5 separate regions of the Homo sapiens genome follow, and all the other regions are linked to region 2. Evidence: promoter capture Hi-C in 16 types of primary human blood cells and fetal thymus (Javierre and others, 2016). All regions are on one chromosome and are shown on one strand. Each heading gives the region's core, a stretch centred on a gene start or on the middle of the fragment in contact. The rest is flanking DNA. Distances are from core to core; before and after follow the strand shown. Region 1 holds the start of CXCR3 (C-X-C motif chemokine receptor 3). Region 2 holds the start of OGT (O-linked N-acetylglucosamine (GlcNAc) transferase). Region 3 has its middle 35 kb from the start of CXCR3. Region 4 has its middle 16 kb from the start of CXCR3. Region 5 overlaps TAF1 (TATA-box binding protein associated factor 1).

Evidence for each region. Contacts are between HindIII fragments. The CHiCAGO score rates a contact against its expected background, and 5 or more counts as called.
Region 1: the fragment with the promoter of CXCR3 here is called in contact with the fragment with the promoter of OGT in region 2 in 4 of 17 cell types (naive CD8 T cells, non-activated CD4 T cells, activated CD4 T cells and 1 more); the score reaches 10.6 in naive CD8 T cells.
Region 3: a fragment that was not itself captured here is called in contact with the fragment with the promoter of OGT in region 2 in 7 of 17 cell types (total CD8 T cells, activated CD4 T cells, total B cells and 4 more); the score reaches 7.4 in total CD8 T cells.
Region 4: a contact is called between a fragment that was not itself captured here and the fragment with the promoter of OGT in region 2, in 1 of 17 cell types (naive CD8 T cells). The highest score is 6.1, in naive CD8 T cells.
Region 5: a contact is called between a fragment that was not itself captured here and the fragment with the promoter of OGT in region 2, in 14 of 17 cell types (megakaryocytes, total B cells, erythroblasts and 11 more). The highest score is 13.3, in megakaryocytes.

The regions. Positions count from the first base shown.
Region 1 is chrX:71,616,376-71,620,057 of GRCh38, reverse strand. It overlaps CXCR3 (C-X-C motif chemokine receptor 3), which reads left to right and starts at 1,547. Exons shown (of 2, transcript NM_001504.2): 1 at 1,547-1,620; 2 at 2,599-3,682. The coding sequence starts at 1,609. RefSeq lists an enhancer at 3,548-3,682. The HindIII fragment of the contact is 3,713 bases long and covers 1,395-3,682 here.
Region 2 is chrX:71,530,823-71,534,573 of GRCh38, reverse strand. OGT (O-linked N-acetylglucosamine (GlcNAc) transferase) reads right to left here and starts at 1,470. Exons shown (of 22, transcript NM_181672.3): 1 at 1,238-1,470. The coding sequence starts at 1,274. RefSeq lists enhancers at 896-1,554, 1,380-1,719, 1,220-2,419. The HindIII fragment of the contact is 929 bases long and covers 1,117-2,045 here.
Region 3 is chrX:71,651,373-71,655,402 of GRCh38, reverse strand. No RefSeq gene overlaps it. Among named protein-coding and RNA genes, the nearest start is that of CXCR3, 35 kb to the right of the region's middle. The HindIII fragment of the contact is 6,979 bases long and covers 1-4,030 here.
Region 4 is chrX:71,632,382-71,636,537 of GRCh38, reverse strand. No RefSeq gene overlaps it. Among named protein-coding and RNA genes, the nearest start is that of CXCR3, 16 kb to the right of the region's middle. The HindIII fragment of the contact is 1,319 bases long and covers 694-2,012 here.
Region 5 is chrX:71,437,058-71,440,681 of GRCh38, reverse strand. The region is part of intron 32 of TAF1 (TATA-box binding protein associated factor 1); the gene reads right to left. It also overlaps the pseudogene LOC124905281. Among named protein-coding and RNA genes, the nearest start is that of TAF1, 73 kb to the right of the region's middle. The HindIII fragment of the contact is 3,445 bases long and covers 60-3,504 here.

The DNA of each region.
Region 1 (3,682 bases), core at 298-2,797, 85 kb before region 2:
ACCCCTGCTTTCCAACTAGGGGAGAGAGAGAAAGAGGAAACTGCTTGGGAGAAGCAAATTACGGGCAGCCTTGCCCACTGGTAATGAGAAGAGGGCGACAGGGAGGGGAGAAGAGGGCAAAGGGGAGAGCTGAGGGCAGGTGGGGAGAGGAATTGTTCACCATTCTCTGCCATAAAGTGACTGATGTGCTGTACCAAGGCTGCCTTACAGCTTTTCCTTAAGATCAAGAAGTTCCTATGGCCTCCTCCCCAACCCCATCCTCCTTCTTGCCCGAGAAGCAACTGCTTTTATGAATTTGTGGTATCTCCTGTCCCTGTTTTAAACCTCGAGAACCAACAGTGTTATCCAAAACAACATGGTATTGATTTTGTGGTGGTTTTTAGAGTTTATGTAAGTGGCATCAAACTATACATGGCATTCTGTAACTTGCTTCTTCTACCATGTGATCGTTGGCTTTTCTAGATGCATCCATGTTCAAATGTGTAGCTTTAGTTCATTTGTTTTTAACTGCATGAATATATCATAGCTTATTCACTTAAAAGAAACTGAAGACAGTGTTCATGAGTAGGAAAAGGAGAATCAGACAGCCGTGGGATCAATCCTCACGCCCACCTTTAATTGCCGTGTCTGGCGAAGGCCTGTCCCCTTTCTGAATCATCCATGCAGATAACCCCGCACGTCACAAGTGAGTTGTGTGGTTGAAATAAGGCAGTGTCGGAGAAAGCACCTAAAGCAATGTCTATCACATAGCAAGTTCATTACTGGTAGTTCCCTTTCTTTTTCCCCACTGATTAGCAGGGAGAGGTGGTGGTAAAAAGCTAGATTTAGTGTAACGGCTTTTTAAAAAAATATTTTAATTCCCTTTTTAAGAGACAGGGCCTCACTCTGTCACCAGGCTGGAGTGCAGTGGTACAATTATATCTCAAGGCAGACTTGAACTCCCGGGCTCAAGCAATCCTCCTGTCTCAGGCTTCCAAGTAGTTAGGACTACAGGCACATGCCACCATGCCCGGCTGGCTTTTTTTATTTTTGGTAGAGATGGAGCCTCGCTATGCTGCCCAGGCTGGTCTCAAACTCTTGGCCTTAAGTGATCCTCTTGCCTCAGCCTCCCCAGTAGCTGGGATTACAGGAATGAGCCACTGCACCTAGCTGAAATTTTTAAGAAGGTGGATCTCCTCTGCAGACTTATTTCTCTACCCAGCCTTTACAATCATGCAAAGATCAACTCAAGGCCAGGACAGATGAGTTCCAATCTATGGAGCACTGACCCTACCAGTGCAGGCAGTAGGGTTGCCCTTCACTTCTCAGCTGCATTGCTTCCTCTTCAGACCTCTCTTCTCAAAGGACCTGCCCCCAGCCAGTCATCCTCTGCCCAGCTTTTCTGGTCCCAAGCTTGTAGCCAGCTCCTCCAGAGAGGTTTCACCCAGTCACGGAAACTCTGTGGCCTGAGGTTTAGGGAGGTCTGGTAGAGGTAACTCCCTGGAAGAGGCTGCTGCTGAGAACTGCCTGAAACTCCCACTTCCTCTGTGACTGCAGGTTTCCAACCACAAGCACCAAAGCAGAGGGGCAGGCAGCACACCACCCAGCAGCCAGAGCACCAGCCCAGCCATGGTCCTTGAGGTAAGTGCTGCTGCCCAGCCAGGCCAGGCCAGAATTCGAAGTGGAAAACCCGGGGCATCAGGGGAATGCCAGGGCTGGCCCACAGCCCAGGGTCACCACAGGGTTGGGTGAGTAGCTGGAGGCCGCATGGGTTGTGGCAGAAACAGCACTGGGGAATTGGGAACCCAGCTTGGCCACTGACCCTGGGTGCCTCTCCTCTCCTCTCTGGCTTCGGTGTCTCGTCTGCAAAATGGGGGGGGCGGGGGGCAAGTAGACTCGAAGGCTCCCTTCAGGAGACTTGGAACTTTGACTCTTGGCGTGCTGGACTAAATTGGTACTGGGGAGACCTGCAGGTCCATAGTGCTGGGGGTGAGGGGATAAAGAAGATTCCTTCTCAAGCTAAGTGGGGGATCCCCTTGTGGGCAGCTAAATGGCCGTGCAAGCCTCAGTGTAGGGAGGGGGAAGGACTGGGCAGACTGCATGCATTTGGGGGGCGTGGTGACTTGTAGAGAGGCCACACGGTGGGGGGGGGCGCAGGAAGTTGGGGTCCCCGGACAAGGGCCAAGGAGGGAAGAGGAGGGTTAGTGACTGGAAAAGGGGATTGTGGAGAGGCGCTGGGGAGGAAGGTGGTTGAACTATGTGTTGGGGGTGGGGCACTGAGGACGCAAGGCAAGCCTGAAGGGAGAGCAGGGAGAGAGAGGACAGTGGGCAGAGAGGGCTCTGGGCACTGGAGGGACGCTCTTCTTCCTGCCCAGGGGTCCCTGGGCCGATGGGATCACGCAGAAGAATGCGAGAGAAGCAGCCTTTGAGAAGGGAAGTCACTATCCCAGAGCCCAGGCTGAGCGGATGGAGTTGAGGAAGTACGGCCCTGGAAGACTGGCGGGGACAGTTATAGGAGGAGCTGCTCAGAGTAAATCACAGACTAAATCAGACTCAATCACAAAAGAGTTCCTGCCAGGCCTTTACACAGCCCCTTCCTCCCCGTTCCCGCCCTCACAGGTGAGTGACCACCAAGTGCTAAATGACGCCGAGGTTGCCGCCCTCCTGGAGAACTTCAGCTCTTCCTATGACTATGGAGAAAACGAGAGTGACTCGTGCTGTACCTCCCCGCCCTGCCCACAGGACTTCAGCCTGAACTTCGACCGGGCCTTCCTGCCAGCCCTCTACAGCCTCCTCTTTCTGCTGGGGCTGCTGGGCAACGGCGCGGTGGCAGCCGTGCTGCTGAGCCGGCGGACAGCCCTGAGCAGCACCGACACCTTCCTGCTCCACCTAGCTGTAGCAGACACGCTGCTGGTGCTGACACTGCCGCTCTGGGCAGTGGACGCTGCCGTCCAGTGGGTCTTTGGCTCTGGCCTCTGCAAAGTGGCAGGTGCCCTCTTCAACATCAACTTCTACGCAGGAGCCCTCCTGCTGGCCTGCATCAGCTTTGACCGCTACCTGAACATAGTTCATGCCACCCAGCTCTACCGCCGGGGGCCCCCGGCCCGCGTGACCCTCACCTGCCTGGCTGTCTGGGGGCTCTGCCTGCTTTTCGCCCTCCCAGACTTCATCTTCCTGTCGGCCCACCACGACGAGCGCCTCAACGCCACCCACTGCCAATACAACTTCCCACAGGTGGGCCGCACGGCTCTGCGGGTGCTGCAGCTGGTGGCTGGCTTTCTGCTGCCCCTGCTGGTCATGGCCTACTGCTATGCCCACATCCTGGCCGTGCTGCTGGTTTCCAGGGGCCAGCGGCGCCTGCGGGCCATGCGGCTGGTGGTGGTGGTCGTGGTGGCCTTTGCCCTCTGCTGGACCCCCTATCACCTGGTGGTGCTGGTGGACATCCTCATGGACCTGGGCGCTTTGGCCCGCAACTGTGGCCGAGAAAGCAGGGTAGACGTGGCCAAGTCGGTCACCTCAGGCCTGGGCTACATGCACTGCTGCCTCAACCCGCTGCTCTATGCCTTTGTAGGGGTCAAGTTCCGGGAGCGGATGTGGATGCTGCTCTTGCGCCTGGGCTGCCCCAACCAGAGAGGGCTCCAGAGGCAGCCATCGTCTTCCCGCCGGGATTCATCCTGGTCTGAGACCTCAGAGGCCTCCTACT
Region 2 (3,751 bases), core at 221-2,720:
CTACTACTTACAGCACAACTTCCAGGAACAGTAGCTAAAACCCTCCACACATCTCAACTGAGAAACAACCAAAAAATAACCTCGCGGGAAACCTCAGAAGCGCAGCCCAATTCCCCACCCCCTTCCGCCCAAATCGCCTCAATATGGAAAGGCAGCTGAAGGACACTCCTACAATTTGGTTGTTTTCGTATTTTCAGTACCAAATGCTCGCGACTGAAGTGTCTAAAAGGGCAACCGCCTTGTACTTGTGCAGCTACACTCCAGTTGCTTTACAAACTCTTCAAGCAGGGATGGAAACTTAAAAGAATATTACACCCTGTGAATAAAGAGATACTGGGCTGAAGAATGGGGATGGCAGACCCAGAGGCGGCGGCGGAGGAATACATCGAGAAAGTAACACAAAGCGAGAATTGGGCGGGCAGGGTGGTCAACGCCAAAGCAGCAGCATCGGGGTGGTTTCTCCCCCAAGGATAGGAAGTGAACAGGGCTGGCAACCTCGCGAAGGGAAGGGTGTGGTTCCCCGCGGACAGGGTGGGAAATCCAGGCTGAGGGCAGCGGTGGAATTGGGCGATGGCAAAGGAAACCCCTGGAAATTTCCAATCTAAACCGGGACCGCTCAACCGAAAGAACACCAGAAAGGCACTGCCTAGCAGGGTGCTGCTCAATGTCCCCTCTTCTCGAGGTGACTTGTGGCACCATCGACGAGCTTTTGATCGTCCTCGGGTGATGCAAAGTGAGGATATGATTACATCGGAACGGCACCCCCGCCCTAGATTGGCAGAGAAGGACCAAATCTGGCTAAGGGGAAAAGACTGGGGGGGGAGATGAAGGAGGAGATGGAGGGGAAAAAGGAGAGGCGATGAGCTGGAATTAGGGGAGAAAACCGCTGCAAAGGAGTGAAAGGGCAGGGATTCCAATGCAGTCCATTCCACGACATTCTAAGCGCGCACGTGTGATAAAAGCGCCTGGAGAGAGTGGAATGCTAGAACATTTACGAAATAAAAACAAAGCAAGAAAGGCAGCAAAAAGCAAGCAAGGGAGGAGGAGGAAATGTTCGGGAAGCGGACAACAGCGGAAAACCCGATGTGATCAGATGCCAGTAGACCACGAAAAGCTTAGCAATGTCACTGATGTAATGGGGATGGTTCGAGGGAAGGGAGGGAAGGAGTGATACAAGGTAGAGGACGGCGCGAGACCCCAAGGGGGCATCTGCCAAGGTAGAACGGGACACCGGTACCTGTGCTGTCGGCCACGTTGCCCACGGAAGACGCCATCTGGAGCTTCTCGAGGGAGAGCAAAAAAGAGGTAATTGGTCCTGCTGCCGCCACTACCAGCAAGAACGTATTTGGAGGTAGTAGTACAAGGGCAGCAGCCGTAGCAATGCTCTGGAGGGCTTGAGCGGCGGCAGCAGTTACAGGCTTCAAACCCTGGGAACTCTAATTGACCATCTACCTAGTACGGTCTTGAAATGGCGGCGACGGCTCCTCGGCCGAAACAACATGGGCCGGAACTACTTTCTGTTACAATCAAGTGCCCGCGCGGAGGTAGCCGGTAACCAGCGCCGCCAACAAAATGACTTCAAGCTGCAAAGTCGAGATTCCATGTAGTCCTCCGCGCAGCGCCCATTGCGACAAACACCACGGTGGAGACCGCGCATGCGAGCAGCCCTGTCAACCCGACTCGTGGTTAGGGCACTCTCTGGGGCGGAAGCGGCCAAGTTTCTTAAGAGTGTAGCGGAAGGGTAAAAACAAACACACACGGGACGGATACGTTTTTGCCACCGCGATTAAGAAGAGTGTTTGTTACTTAGCAGGTGGTGTCGTTTTAAACATAAATGCCAAAGGCGTCTAAAAAAGTTTATCAACTGTATTCGTACAAAAACGGATGGTTACGACTCTCACGGATCAATTCTGAGCCAGTCAATTCAGAAGATTGCCTCTCAAAGACAGCTGCTCAAAACGAGGAGCGAGAGGGTTCCGATTTGAGCCCGTCTTCATTGTGACTCGGCCATCGATTTCAGCACTTCGATGAAAAAGACTGAAGCTTTCACAGGGCCAGTTGAATGCAGACACCTTCAATGTTGGCCGTATAGCCTGAAATTTCAAAATCGTTTTGGTATTCAGAATACTCCTGCCCACGGTGATAGGGCAAATGTTTAATAACTCAGGGACATGCTGGGCGTTTGCACTCCGAAGGCAGCCATAAAAATGTTAAAGGTGATTCACGTTCGTCAAAATCCATGACTCTCCTCGAGTTGTGACTTCATTTCCACCAGCTAGCTCTGCACATTGTCACAGTCGGCGATTCCACTGAGCTCAAAGCAGATCAACAATGATAAATGAATTCACTTGCCATCTGCCTAAACCACACGTCTAGATTGAGTCATGAATTGCCTCTACTTCCTTGAACAAATCGGTTCTTACGATCTTCCTGCAGTTTCAAGTCTACTGTTCAGACATTTTGTCACATTGGTATTTATACTTCACCTCTTGTTCTAGAAACGACTTAAGGTAGCTTGCCACATCAGCAAGAAAGTATTACAAGCCACTGGAGGCTACAAGTTGGATCTCTGAGAGCCTTTTTATTTCAAAAAGTCCTTGATCTAAGAAAGCAGGTCAATGAATTTCTTCAAAAAGTTTTTGCTACCTAGCCCCTTCACTACATTTTTTAAAACTAAGTCCTCAAATTCTGCTTAAATTTCTTCAAAACAGTCAACAAACAATTAATTATGGAAATGGCACAGAGAAAATTCATAATGCTAATTTCTTCCATCCCATAATCAAGAGTCACATCATGCAGTGAAAAAGACAAAAATCACTACACAAACTCTCCTGAAAATTGAGCACCAACCTCTTGTAATTTGATTTAACTGGTAAAACCTCCCCCCCGCACACACACACCTACTACAAGTTCCCTATCTGTAATGAGTAAACTCAGCTTTTCAACTTTTAGAAGAGACTTCTCAGATTCCACTGGCAGATGTTTAGGCCTTGCTGATGAGCGGGTGCTAGCTAATTAACAAAAACTCTTTTTGTTGTTAAATGCAGGTCATGTTCCTAATTCTTCAGCCAATAAGTAACATTTACTAGAGTCTCTATGTGCAAGGCACTGTGGGGGGCACAAAAATGAACAGAAATCCTCGCCCTCAAGGAATCTGAAGCCTAGTTAGGTAGACACAAAAAGCTACTAGAGAGCAATACAGAAGACTATTTAGATGATAAAATATATTACTCTCTATGAATATCTAGGGAGGAAACAGGTAAGGTTGGAGGGGGTGAGAAAGAAGCCTTGATCTAGACATTGAAGGAAGTGCTTTTGTATGTTTTTTATTGTTGTTCACATTGATTTCTGGGTTTTTTTTATGTGCAATTTTAAATTTAGAACCAATTATAATTAAATCAGCTGGGTCTTCAACCCCAATCCCAAACTTTGTCACCCAGTAACACCACTGATGTTGCATTACTTTTTTTGCTGCTGTGTAACAAAGTATCACAAATACAGCTGCTCAGAACAACACACATTTCACAGCAGTAGCACCAGCGCTGGATGAGACCCGGGCTGGTGGCTGCTGTTGCACTGCTGCTGAAAAAAAATGGCTCCAAAGGTTAAATGAAGCCAAAGAAATACATAGATGTGAGAGGAGAAGCCAGCTGGACTTCCTGGGTTGGGTGGGGACTTAAAGAACTTTTCTGTCTTACAAGAGGATTGTAAAATGCACCAATCAGCACTCTGTAGCTAGGATTGTAAAACG
Region 3 (4,030 bases), core at 586-3,085, 120 kb before region 2:
ATCGATATCGTGAAAATGGCCATACTGCCCAAGGTAATTTATAGATTCAATGCCATCCCCATCAAGCTACCAATGACTTCACAGAATTGGAAAAAACTATTTTAAAGTTCATATGGAACCAAAAAAGAGCCCACATTGCCAAGACAATCCTAAGCCAAAAGAACAAAGCTGGAGACATCACACTACCTGACTTCAAACTATACTACAAGGCTACAGTAACCAAAACAGCATGGTACTGGTACCAAAACAGAGATACAGACCAATGGAACAGAACAGAGCCTTCAGAAATAATACCACACATCTACAACAATTTGATCTTTAACAAACCTGACAAAAACAAGAAATGGGGAAAGGATTCCCTATTTAATAAATAGTGCTGGGAAAACTGGCTAGCCATATGGAGAAAGCTGAAACTGGATCCCTTGCTTACACCTTATACAAAAATTAATTCAAGATGGATTAAAGACTTAAATATTAGACCAAAAACGATAAAAACCCTAGAAGAAAACCTAGGTAATACCATTCAGGACATAGGCATGGGTGAGGACTTCACGACTAAAACACCAAAAGCAATGGCAATAAAAGCCAAAATTGACAAATGGTATCTAATTAAACTAAAGAGCTTCTGCACAGCAAAAGAAACTACCATCAGAGTGAACAGGCAACCTACAGAATGTGAGAAAATTTTTACAATCTACCCATCTGATAAAGGGCTAATATCCACAATCTACAAAGAACTTAAACAAATTTACAAGAAAAAATCAAAAAACCCCATCAAAAACTGGGTGAAGGATATGAACAGTCACTTCTCAAAAGAAGACATTTATGCAGCTAACAGACACATGAAAAAATGCTCATCATCACTGGCCATCAGAGAAATGCAAATCAAAACTACAATGAGATACCATCTCACACCAGTCAGAATGGCAATCATTAAAAAGTCAGGAAGCAACAGGTGCTGGAGAGGATGTGGAGAAATAGGAACACTTTTATGCTGTTGGTGAGACTGTAAACTAGTTCAAACATGTGGAAGACAGTGTGGCGATTCCTCAGGGATCTAGAACTAGAAATACCATTTGACCCAGCCATCCCATTACTGGGTATATATCCAAAGGATTATAAATCATGCTTCTATAAAGACACATGCTGACATATGTTTATTACGGCACTATTCACAATAACAAAGACTTGGAACCAACCCAAGTGTCCATCAATGATAGACTGGATTAAGGAAATGTGGCACATATACACCATGGAATACTATGTAGCCATAAAAAAGGATGCATTCATGTCCTTTGTAGAGACATGGATGAAGCTGGAAACCATCATTCTGAGCAAACTATAGTAAGGACAGAAAACCAAACACCACATGTTCTCACCCATAGGTGGGAATTGAAAAATGAGAACACTTGAATACAGGGTGGGGAACATCACACACCAGGGCCTGTCTTGGGGTGGGGGAAGGGGGGAGGCATAGCATTAGGAGATATAACTAATGTAAATGATGAGTTAATGGGTGTAGCACACCAACATGGCACATGTATATATATGTAACAAACCTGTATGTTGTGCACATGTACCCTAGAACTTAAAGTATAATAAAAATAAATAAATAAACAAATAAAAGAGAAACAGCATAAAAGTTCAGAAAATTTGCAGCCTGACAGTTAAGTAGAAAAGAAAAACTCCTTTTTTTGAGGAGAAATTCAAGCCGGCTGCAGAAATTTGCATAAAGAGCAAGGAGACTAATGTTAATCCCCAAGACCCTGGGGAAAATGTCTCCAGGCCATGTCAGAGAACTTCAAGGCAGCCCCTCCCATCACAGGCCCAGGGGCCCAAGAGGAAAAAGTGGTTTTGTGGGCTGGGCCCAGGGTTCCCATGCAGTGTGCAGCCTAGGAACTTGGTGCCCAGCCACTCCAGCCATGGCTGAAAGGGGCCAATGCAGAGCTCAAGCTGTGGCCTTAGAAGGTGGAAGCCCCAAGTCTTGGCAGCTTCCATGAGGTATTGAGCCTGCGGCTACACAGAAGTCAAGAATTGAGGTTTGGGAACCTCTGCCTAGATTTCAGAAGATGTATGGAAACGCCTGGATGCTCAGGCAAAAGTTTGCTGCAGGGGGAGCATTGTGGAGAACCTCTGCTAGGGCAGTGCAGAAGGGAAATGTGGAGTCGGAGCCACCACACAGAGTCCCTACTGGGGGACTGCCTAGTGGAGTTCCCATACAGGTGCACTTGATAATTATTTATTAAACTACGCACATAGATTGTGATGTTTTCTTTCTGTATGTTACTTACTGCCATAAGCAGAGAAAAAATAGTGGTAAGGGAAGTAACATTGCATTAAACAGTCAAGTATTTTATAACCAGAAGGATAACCAAAATTATTTTCTCTATTTATAGCAGATCTCTTTGAGAGTAGTAATATCAGTTTATTGATAAAAATAGTTTTATTTTCATATTCTCATAGATTTCACTAAACATCATAGGAGTGATGCTTACATAATTGGGATATTAATTTCGATGTTTTGGTAAGTATTTTATATTTGGGTGGTAAGTTTTCATTCACAGTTTGTGACTTTGTGCTGGAATCCCATGCACTTGGTACATTTTCTCAGGGGAGATTTGTCACCTCCCCATCCACTTATTCTCAGAGGTGGAGGACCAAGAACTGGAGAAAAAGAAATGACCAAAAAAAAAATCTAAAAACATGTGCCTTCAATGTAATACATGAATTTGACCAGGTGAGGGCAGTGCCGTTTTAAGCTGTTTGCTGGGATGCAAGTGGAGGCAGCTAGTGATCTCATGCCTTTTGAGTTTCTCCTCTTCTCTACTGTTAGCTGCTGGGATTGAAAGGGCCATTTGTGCCAATTAAAATGGAAGCAGTGTTGGCAATCCTTCTGATGGGCTGCATCTCCTTTGCCTGTTTGGCACTTCCATCCTAACGCCAACCTTGCCAGCTGCTTTCCCCAGCAACTCTTTTCTTCCTGTTTCTTCTCCTCAGGCCCAACTAAGACCACTGATGTGCTACACAAAGCACGGGGCCCTGACAAACAGAGAGATAGCAGGCTGGACTGTGCAGCCCTTTGGGGCCTTATTGTTGTGAATAAAGCCAGAGGCATTTTCCTAAAAAGTCAACCTCCATCCCAGGATGAGTTTCCCCTGCTTTTGTTTCTAGCCTTGTACTCCCTGAGGGTGGCTTGAGTGAAGGCTCCACACTGGTTTATGGCATTAATAGGGTCAAGTAGGACGAATGTTGGGATTATTTATTTCATCAATTGATGAAATGAAATAAAAACTATTCTCTGGGGCCAGGCTCAGTGGCTCATGCCTGTCTGGGAGGCCAAGGCGGGCAGATCGCTTGAGCTCAGGAGTTCAAGACCAGCCTGGCCAACATGGCAAAACCCTGTCTCTATGAAAAATACAAAAAAATTAGACAGGTGTGGTGCCACATGCCTGTAGTCCCAGCCACTTGTGGGGCTGAGGTGGGAGGATCGCTTGAGCCTGGAAGGTAGAGCCTGGCAGTGAGCCGAGATCACCACTGCACTCTAGACTGGATGACAAAGTGAGACCCCGTCTCCAAAACACACACACACACACACACACACACACACACACACACACACAAAACTATTACTGGTTCTGGGAGCCACCCCTCTGCCTAGAGATAAATAGCAATTTTCATGATAAGTACCACTCCATTCCCTGATTCCATTATTTAGAAGTCCAGCAACTGTAAGGACTTACTTAAGGTTGAGTGAGAAGCAGAAATCAAGGAACCACTTATGTTGAAACTTTACTTTACTACTTAAGTAAAGGGTCTTCTCAGATTCTCATTAGGGATTTTTCATCTTTTCCAACTACATTTTTTTTTTTTTTTTTTGAGACAGGGTCCCACCCTATCACCTAGGCTGGAGTGCAGTGACATGCTCATAGCTCACTCCAGCCTCGAACTCCTGGGCTTAAGCCATCCTCCTACCTCAGCCTTCCAAAGTGCTGGAATTCCAGGTGTGAGGCAGCACACCCAGCCTTTTTCA
Region 4 (4,156 bases), core at 104-2,603, 100 kb before region 2:
CATTCATTCTACCCTGTTCATTGCTGCTTCTGTGGCTGAGGAAATCTGCCAGGCAGCTGGAAGGCCTGCAGTTTCCGGTGCATCTCCCTGCACACACCAAGGGACCACTCCTCTTTGGGGAATTACCAGCTCCTCAGAGTGTTACTAGGAAGCAGGGCCCGGGGACCCACAGCTCTCTCTCTCCTCCCTCTTCTCCTTCTACCCAGGCTGTATACCTCTCCTGAGGCAATAAAGCACATAGCTGGCTTCATTTTGATAAGGTGTGGGGAGAAAGAGGGAAACACAAGGAGGGAAGATACAGGCTTCAGCCTATGGCACCTAAAGGGATAAACTGATTGTCTACTAAAAATACAAAAAAATTAGCCGGATGTGGTGGCACGTGCCTGTAGTCCCAGTTACTTGGGAGGCTGAGGCAGGAGAATCGCTTGAAGCCAGGGAGGCAGAGGTTGCAGTGAGCCCAAATTGCACCACTGCACTCCAGCTTGGGTGACAGAGCGAGACTCTGTCTTGGAAAAAATAATAATAATAAAATAAAATAAAAAGCCAACATCCAATCTAATGTTAAAATACTTAGGCCGGGCACAGAGGCTCATGCATGTAGTCCCAGCACTTTGGGAGGCCAAGGTGGGAGGATCGAGACCAGCCTGGGCAACATAGTGAAACCCGGTCTCCACAAAAAGAAAAAACCAAGCTTAAAATACTTAAGTGGGGGGTGTAGCCCAACATCATGTTTTCACAGGAAATCTCCCAGGGGACATTGCCACTTTTCCTCCTAGGATAACGACCCTTTTCTTCCTAGGCCTCTGTGGTAGGCAGAATAATTCCCCAACTACCAAAGATATCTACATCCACATCCTAACCCAGAACCTGTGTGTGTGTGAGATTACATGTCGAAGGGGAATGAAGATTGCAGATAAAATTAAGGTTGCCAATCAGCACACTTGTGACAGGGATATTCTCTTGGATTATCCAGGTAGGCCCAGTGTAATCTCAGCATCCCTATAAGTAGAAGAGGGAGGCAGAATGAACGAACCAGACAGATGGCAGTGTGAGAAGGACTTGGCCTGACGTTACCAGGTTTTAAGATGGGGGAAGGGGCCATGGGCCAAGGCATCCAGAAGTTGGAAAACGCAAGGAAATAGACTCTTCCCTAGAGCCTCTAGAAGAAACACCAAGCCTGCCAACACTTTGATTTTAGTCCAGTGAGACGCATCTCAGGCTTTTTTTTTTTTTTTTTTTGAGTCAGATTTTCACTCTTGTCACCCAGGCTAGAGTGCAATGGCAGGATCTTGGCTCACTGCAACCTCCGCGTCCTGGGTTCAAGCAATTCTCCTGCCTCAGCCTCCCCAGTAACTGGGACTACAGGTGCATGCCACCACGCCTGGCTAATTTTTTATTTTTATTTTTAGTAGAGACTAAAAATATTATTTGTTTCACCATGTTGGCCAGGCTGGTCTCGAACTTCTGACCTCAGGTGATCCGCCCGCCTCAGCCTCCCAAAGTGCTGGGATTACAGGCTTGAGCCACTGCACCCAGCCCGCATCTCAGACTTCTGACTTCTAGAACTATAAGGTAATAAATTTGTATTGTTTGAAGCCACTAAATTTGTCATAATTTTTTATAGCAGCAGTAGGAAATAAATACAAGCTACAAAAGGAAATCATGGTTTTTAATTTCTTCTTATGATTTTCAGTGTAACTGTTTCCATTCTGGGGCTTGAAGGTAGCCCTGAGCATGGCTGGTATCCTGTTTTCTCCCACACCTTAGGGTGGTGGAGGATGGGGTTAGGACACATGGTCTGCCTCTGGCCCTGGCCTCGTGGGCTTGTAGAAATCCATGTCTCCCCTTTCCCTCTAAGCCATGTAAAAGCCAAGTCTTGACTAGAGATGAGTGTTGACAGCTGCTGGATCTACAAATAGGTCCTCCTTCCAGGCCTGTGGCGGGATTGCACGTCCCAGGGAATCTCTTTAGAGTTAGGTGTGGACATGTGGCTTGCCTTTGCCAATGAAGCTTTAAGACACAGTGTACAATTCATCTCGTTCTCATCCCACTGCTGCAGTGAGCATGAAAGAATGTGCCAAGATGGGGCCACTGTCAGCGCCTGGGTCCCTGGATGACTACAGTAAGCCAAGCCTTCGCTAACCTGTGTTGTACATTTAATGTGAATAAAAAATAAAGTTCTGTTTGATTAACGCTCTGAGGTTTGGTACTTTTTGTTTCACAGCATAGCCTAGTCTGGCTTGGCCTGACAAATCTGGGTCTTTTTTTTTTTAAGAACCAGGGTCTCAGTCTGTCACCCAGGCTAGAGTACAGCGGCACAATCATGGCTCGCTATAGTTTCGAACTCCTGGGCTCAAGTGATTCTCCTGCCTCAGCCTCCCAAGTAGCTGAGACTACAAGCACACACCACCACACCTGGCTAATTTAAATTTTTTTTTCTTATAAAGATGGGCTCCCACTGTGTTGCCCTGGCTGGTCTCAAATTCCTGGGCTCAAGTGATCCTCCCGTCTCAGCCTCCCGAGTACCTGGGACTACAGGCGTGTGCCACCACACCGGGCTCTGGGTCTTACCAGATTCTCTGTCTCCTAGTCAGCCTCTTCACTCATGTGGCCACGAGAGGCAGGGCCTGAGCTTTCCTCATTTCAGACACAAACATGTGCAACGCAGACTCTGGCCCCAGCCTCACAATAAAAAGTGAGAAAAAAAAATCTGCCTTGTTTCTCTCCCCAGGGAGCTGGGAGGCTGAGGGAGCTAGGCCCTGCACAGGACCCACTAGAGAAAGAAAGGAGCATTCCTTTATGGAAGTGCCAACCTCAAAAGGGTGGAAGTAAATCCTTCATGAGGCCTCATACCAGTTAGCTTGAACCTCACATGTACATTTAATACTTTGGCACCAAAAGCACTGGCCCATCCTAAAGGTCAACTTCTCTTGCAGAGAGCCAGAGGAGAGATACTGCAGTCCCTCGCCTCCAGCCTCAGCAGTCATGACAGGGTTATCCCAATCCCCCTGGGGCAGAAGGGAGTAGACACTGACCACTGGGCCTAAACCAGGGGCTTCCCTTTTAAAAAAACAAAAACAGAAACTAACAAACAACAACAATGAAAAACATCTCTTTCCTCCAGGCAACTCCTGGCAGCTCTTGCTAGTCCTCTACGTCTCCGCCGCCCCTGGTCCTGTAGTCTCCATGTAGGGGCCAAGGCTGTGGAACATCAGCGGCTCCAGGGACCCTTTTTCTCTTGTGCTTTTCACTGCCCCTCATGCTTGCTGAGACTTTCTCCCCAGCACAGCCAGTGCTCCTGGACCTTTCACATTCATTATTATCTCACCGAGAAGGTCAAGAGGGTTAATCATTGATGTCAACGTTATGAAACTTGTTACTACTCTTAAAGATGATATTAAACAGCTGTTTTGAAATTCTCATTGCCTCAGCACTATGGTCTAGTGGCTTTCCACTCTTGATGTGCATTACAATTACCTGGAGAGCTCTTGAAAACCACCCAGAGCCAGACACTCTCCCTGGCCTAATTAAACGAGAAGCACGGGGTCCTCATTGCTCTCTATCAGGCATAATTACCTCTCCATGTCTTTGTGCGCTGTGGGTCCTAGTCCCTGACACACAAAAAGAATCAGCAGCAGCACTTGGTCAATATCCAGCCTCATCTCTCCCATCTTGAGGAGGGTCTGACAAGTGTAGCATTCTTTGAAATTTCCGAGAAATTGTTTCTTCCTGTACTCCCTTCCCATCTCCACCCCATTCTTTCTAAAAGCCTGTTTTCCTCAAATCAACATTCCTCAGAATATATTCTGTAGAGAGACCAGGGGAGCTGGGAAAAACACAGTAGTTAGTGACTGTGGTTGGCTGATAATGGCTCCCAAAGATAAGTCTGGTCCTAACCCCTGAAACCTGTGAATGCTGCTTTATTTAGGGAAAAGGGTCTTTACAGATGTAATGAAGTTAAATACTTGGCCATGAGGAGACTATCCTGGATTATCTGGATGGGACTTAAATGCCCTCACACACAAGTGTGTCCTTATAAAAGAGAGACAAAGAGCAGACACCCGGAAGAAGGAGAGCCCCCATGAAGATGAAGGTAGAACCTGGAGTGATGATCTCACAAACCCAGGAATGCCAGCCAGCAGCTGCCAGATGCTAC
Region 5 (3,624 bases), core at 533-3,032, 94 kb after region 2:
ATGTAAAATGGTACAGACACTCCAAAAGTGTGGCACAATCTTTTTGTAGTTCATAAGCTTATGATGACGTAAGTGTGACGACATTGGGTTTTCACGTTCATGTGTGAGATGTGCCTCCCTCAAGCCTTATTACAATGCCAGTACATTTTTTTTCCACATCTGATGTGGAAAAAAAAAAAATGAAATAGTGCCGTGTCTTGTAAAACTAAACATATACCATTCTATTCTTGGGCATTTATCCCAAAGAAATGAAAAATTAAACTCATCCAAAACCCTGTCTATGATTGCTCACAGCAGCTTTACTCACAATGGCAAAATAGTGAAAATCTGAATGTCCTTCAATGAGTAAATGTTTGAACAAACGCTGGTACAACCACACAATGGAACACTCAACAATTTAAAAAATGAACTACTGATACAACAATTTAGATGGACCTCAAGGGAATTATGCTTTGCGAAAAAAGTCAATCTCAAATGGTTACATATTATACTATTCCATTTATATAACATGCTCAAATGTCAAAACTATAGAGATGGAGAACGGATAAGTGGAACAGGAACAGTGGTGGGTGTGGTGGTGGGCATGTGTGTGTGGGGGGTGCAGATACAAAGAACAGGGAGTTCCTTTATGGTAACAGTTCTAAGTCTTGATTGTGGTGGTGGTTACAGGAACATATATATGGCACGAAATTGCACACACTTATGCACAAATGAATAGATTTTTAAAATGGTGAAAACTAAGTTTTGTAATTTATTTAAAAGTAATGTACCAATATAAATTTCCTGGTTTTGATACTGAAGTACAGCTATGTAAGATATTGCCATTGAAGGAAGCTGAGTGAGAAGCCCACAGGACTCTGTACCATTTCTTGCAACTTCCTGAATCTATAATTATCTCAAAATAAAAAGGATCAGAATACATTCATGAGCAAAAAAGAGCAAATTACAGAATAAAACAAAAACTTGAAAACCTACATGTAATTTTCTTTTTGACTGCTCTTGCGGAACAGGGCTACCCTATAGGCAGTGTGCTGAGAGCAGCGTAATAAGTAAACACGTTTTGTCTAAGCATAGAAAAAAGTACCTAAGACTATAGACCAAGCTGTTATCTCTGGGGAAATGAAAATATGGGAGACAGGAGTGGGAGGGCAGGCAGAGGCTTTAACTTTTAATTTTATGTATTTCTAGATTATTTGATCTTTTTATAAGAGATTTTGCTTTTTTGTTTTTTAAAAGGTCTACCTGACAGAAATGTAGATGATAGGTTAGAAGGAGATAAATGTAAAGGCTGGGACATTCACCAGGCGACTAGGCAAAATGTAATGTGAACTTTAGTGACATACTGGATGTTGGAACTTATTCAAAGTGAAGAATTAAAAAAAAAGAGTTTCCTAGACGTAGCTACTGGGTAATGTTAATGCCCCATTAAACCCAGATTGGAAATTGTAAATGAGTGATTCAAGTAAAGAAGGAGAGAGGGAGAAAGTTGGAATAAGGAAGGATAGGAGGAAACAATAATACATTCAGCTTGAGGTATGTTTTAAGTTCCATTGAGACATCCAAGAGGAAATGTTTGGCAAGTGGCTTTGTCTACAATAGAGTCATCAGGAAAAGAGGTGGCAACTGAAGTTACAGGAGTGGGCAGAACATTCAGCAAAGGAGATTAAAAAGGAATAGTTTAAGAGGTGGGAGGAAAATAAGGGCTTTTTTATTTTTGGAGTCTTGCTCTGTCACCCAGGCTGAAGTGCCGTGTCATGATCTTGGCTCACTGCAACCTCTGCCTCCCAGGTTCAAGTGATTCTCCTGCCTCAGCCTCCCAAGAACGCTGAGTGCATTCTCATACCACGTGCCACCACGCCTGGCTAATTTTTTTGTATTTTTAGTGAAGACGGGGTTTCACCATGTTGGCCAGGCTGCTCTCGAACTCCTGACCTCAGGTGATCCACCCATCTCGGCCTCCCCCGGCCAGAGCTAAAAATTGTCATGGAAGCCAATCACAATACTGTTGTGAGGAAAGAATGGTCAATGATGTCAAATACTAGGGTGAGGTCAAGATAAGGACAGAAAAGTGCCCACTATATCTGATAATTATGTGATCCTGTTTACTTGGTAGACTGGACAGGGTGGAAGCCAGCTTAAAGCTAAGCGAGGCATTACTGGAAGACAAAGAAAATAGTGAGAGACGTTACATATTCATAAAAGAAGTCTGGCTGTCATAAAAAAGAATGAAACTCTGATACATGCTACAACATGGATGAACCTTGAAAACATGGTAAGTAAAACAAACCAGACACAAAAGGAAGAATATTGTATATAATGTATGATTTACTTATATGACATACCTAGAATAGGCAATTTCATAGAGATAGAAACTAGAATAGAGGTTACCAGGAGCTGGGAAGAAGGGGAGTTACCATGTAAGGGGTATAGAGTTTCTGTTTGGAATAATAAGAAAGTTCTGGAAATACACAGTGGTAATGGTTGCACTACACTGTGATTGAACTTAATGCCACTGATTTGTACACTTAAAAATAGTTAAAATGACGGCTGGGCATGATGGCTCATACCTGTAATCCCAGCACTTTGGAAGGCTGAGGGGAGGTGGATCACCTGAGGTCAGGAGTTTGAGACCAACCTGGCCAACTTGGTGAAACCCCGTCTCTACTAAAAATACAAAAATTACCCGGGCGTGGTGGTGCACGCCTGTAATCCCAGCTACTCTGGAGGCTGAGGCAGGAGAAACGTTTGAATCCAGGAAGCGGAGGTTGCAGTAAGCCAAGATCGCGCCACTGCACTCCAGCCTAGGAAACAGAATGAGACTCCGTCTCAAAAAAAAAAAAAAAAAAAGTTAAAATGACAAATTTTTATATTATGTATATTTTCCATAATAAAAAAGTCTGTATGGAAAGAGAAAGAGACAAGATGGCAGCAAGAGACCCAAGCAGGATCGGGGGAAGTTTTTCTTCTCTTCAATGACATGAAGGACTTAACTTTCATATGGAAATATTTCTCTTTTTCTTTTTTTTTTTTTTGGAGACAGAGTCTCATTCTGTCGCCCAGGCTGGGGTACAGTGGCACGATCTCAGCTCCAGGTGCATGTCACCAGCACCAGTCCCGGCTAATTTTTGTATTTTTAGTAGAGATGGGGTTTCACCATGTTGGCCAGGCTGGTCTTGAACTCCTGGCCTCAAGTGATCCACCCGCCTCAGCCTCCCAAAGTGCTGGGATTACTGTTGTGAGCCACCAAGCCTGGTCAGAAATACTTATACCTTGGGTCCCAATCACTGATGGAAAAAAAAGACCCTTATTATTCATGAGTGGCCAAACTTACAGAGTAGTACCCTCATAACAAAGACTTAGAAACTAGTATTATGGAAATACTTTAAGCATTATATTTAACCTATGAACAATACTGAATCATCTATTCATATTCTTCAAATTGAAACCTTTAGACTTAATAACCAGTTAGGAAAAAAAGAGTACAAGCACAATGGCAGCAAAGCTTTTAAATTTTATATTGAATATCGACAATGAAAAATAAATAAACAAAATAAAAACTTTTAAATTACCTAGGAATAAACTCGACAATGAGAAATTCAAAAGCAACAAAAACTATCAAATTAA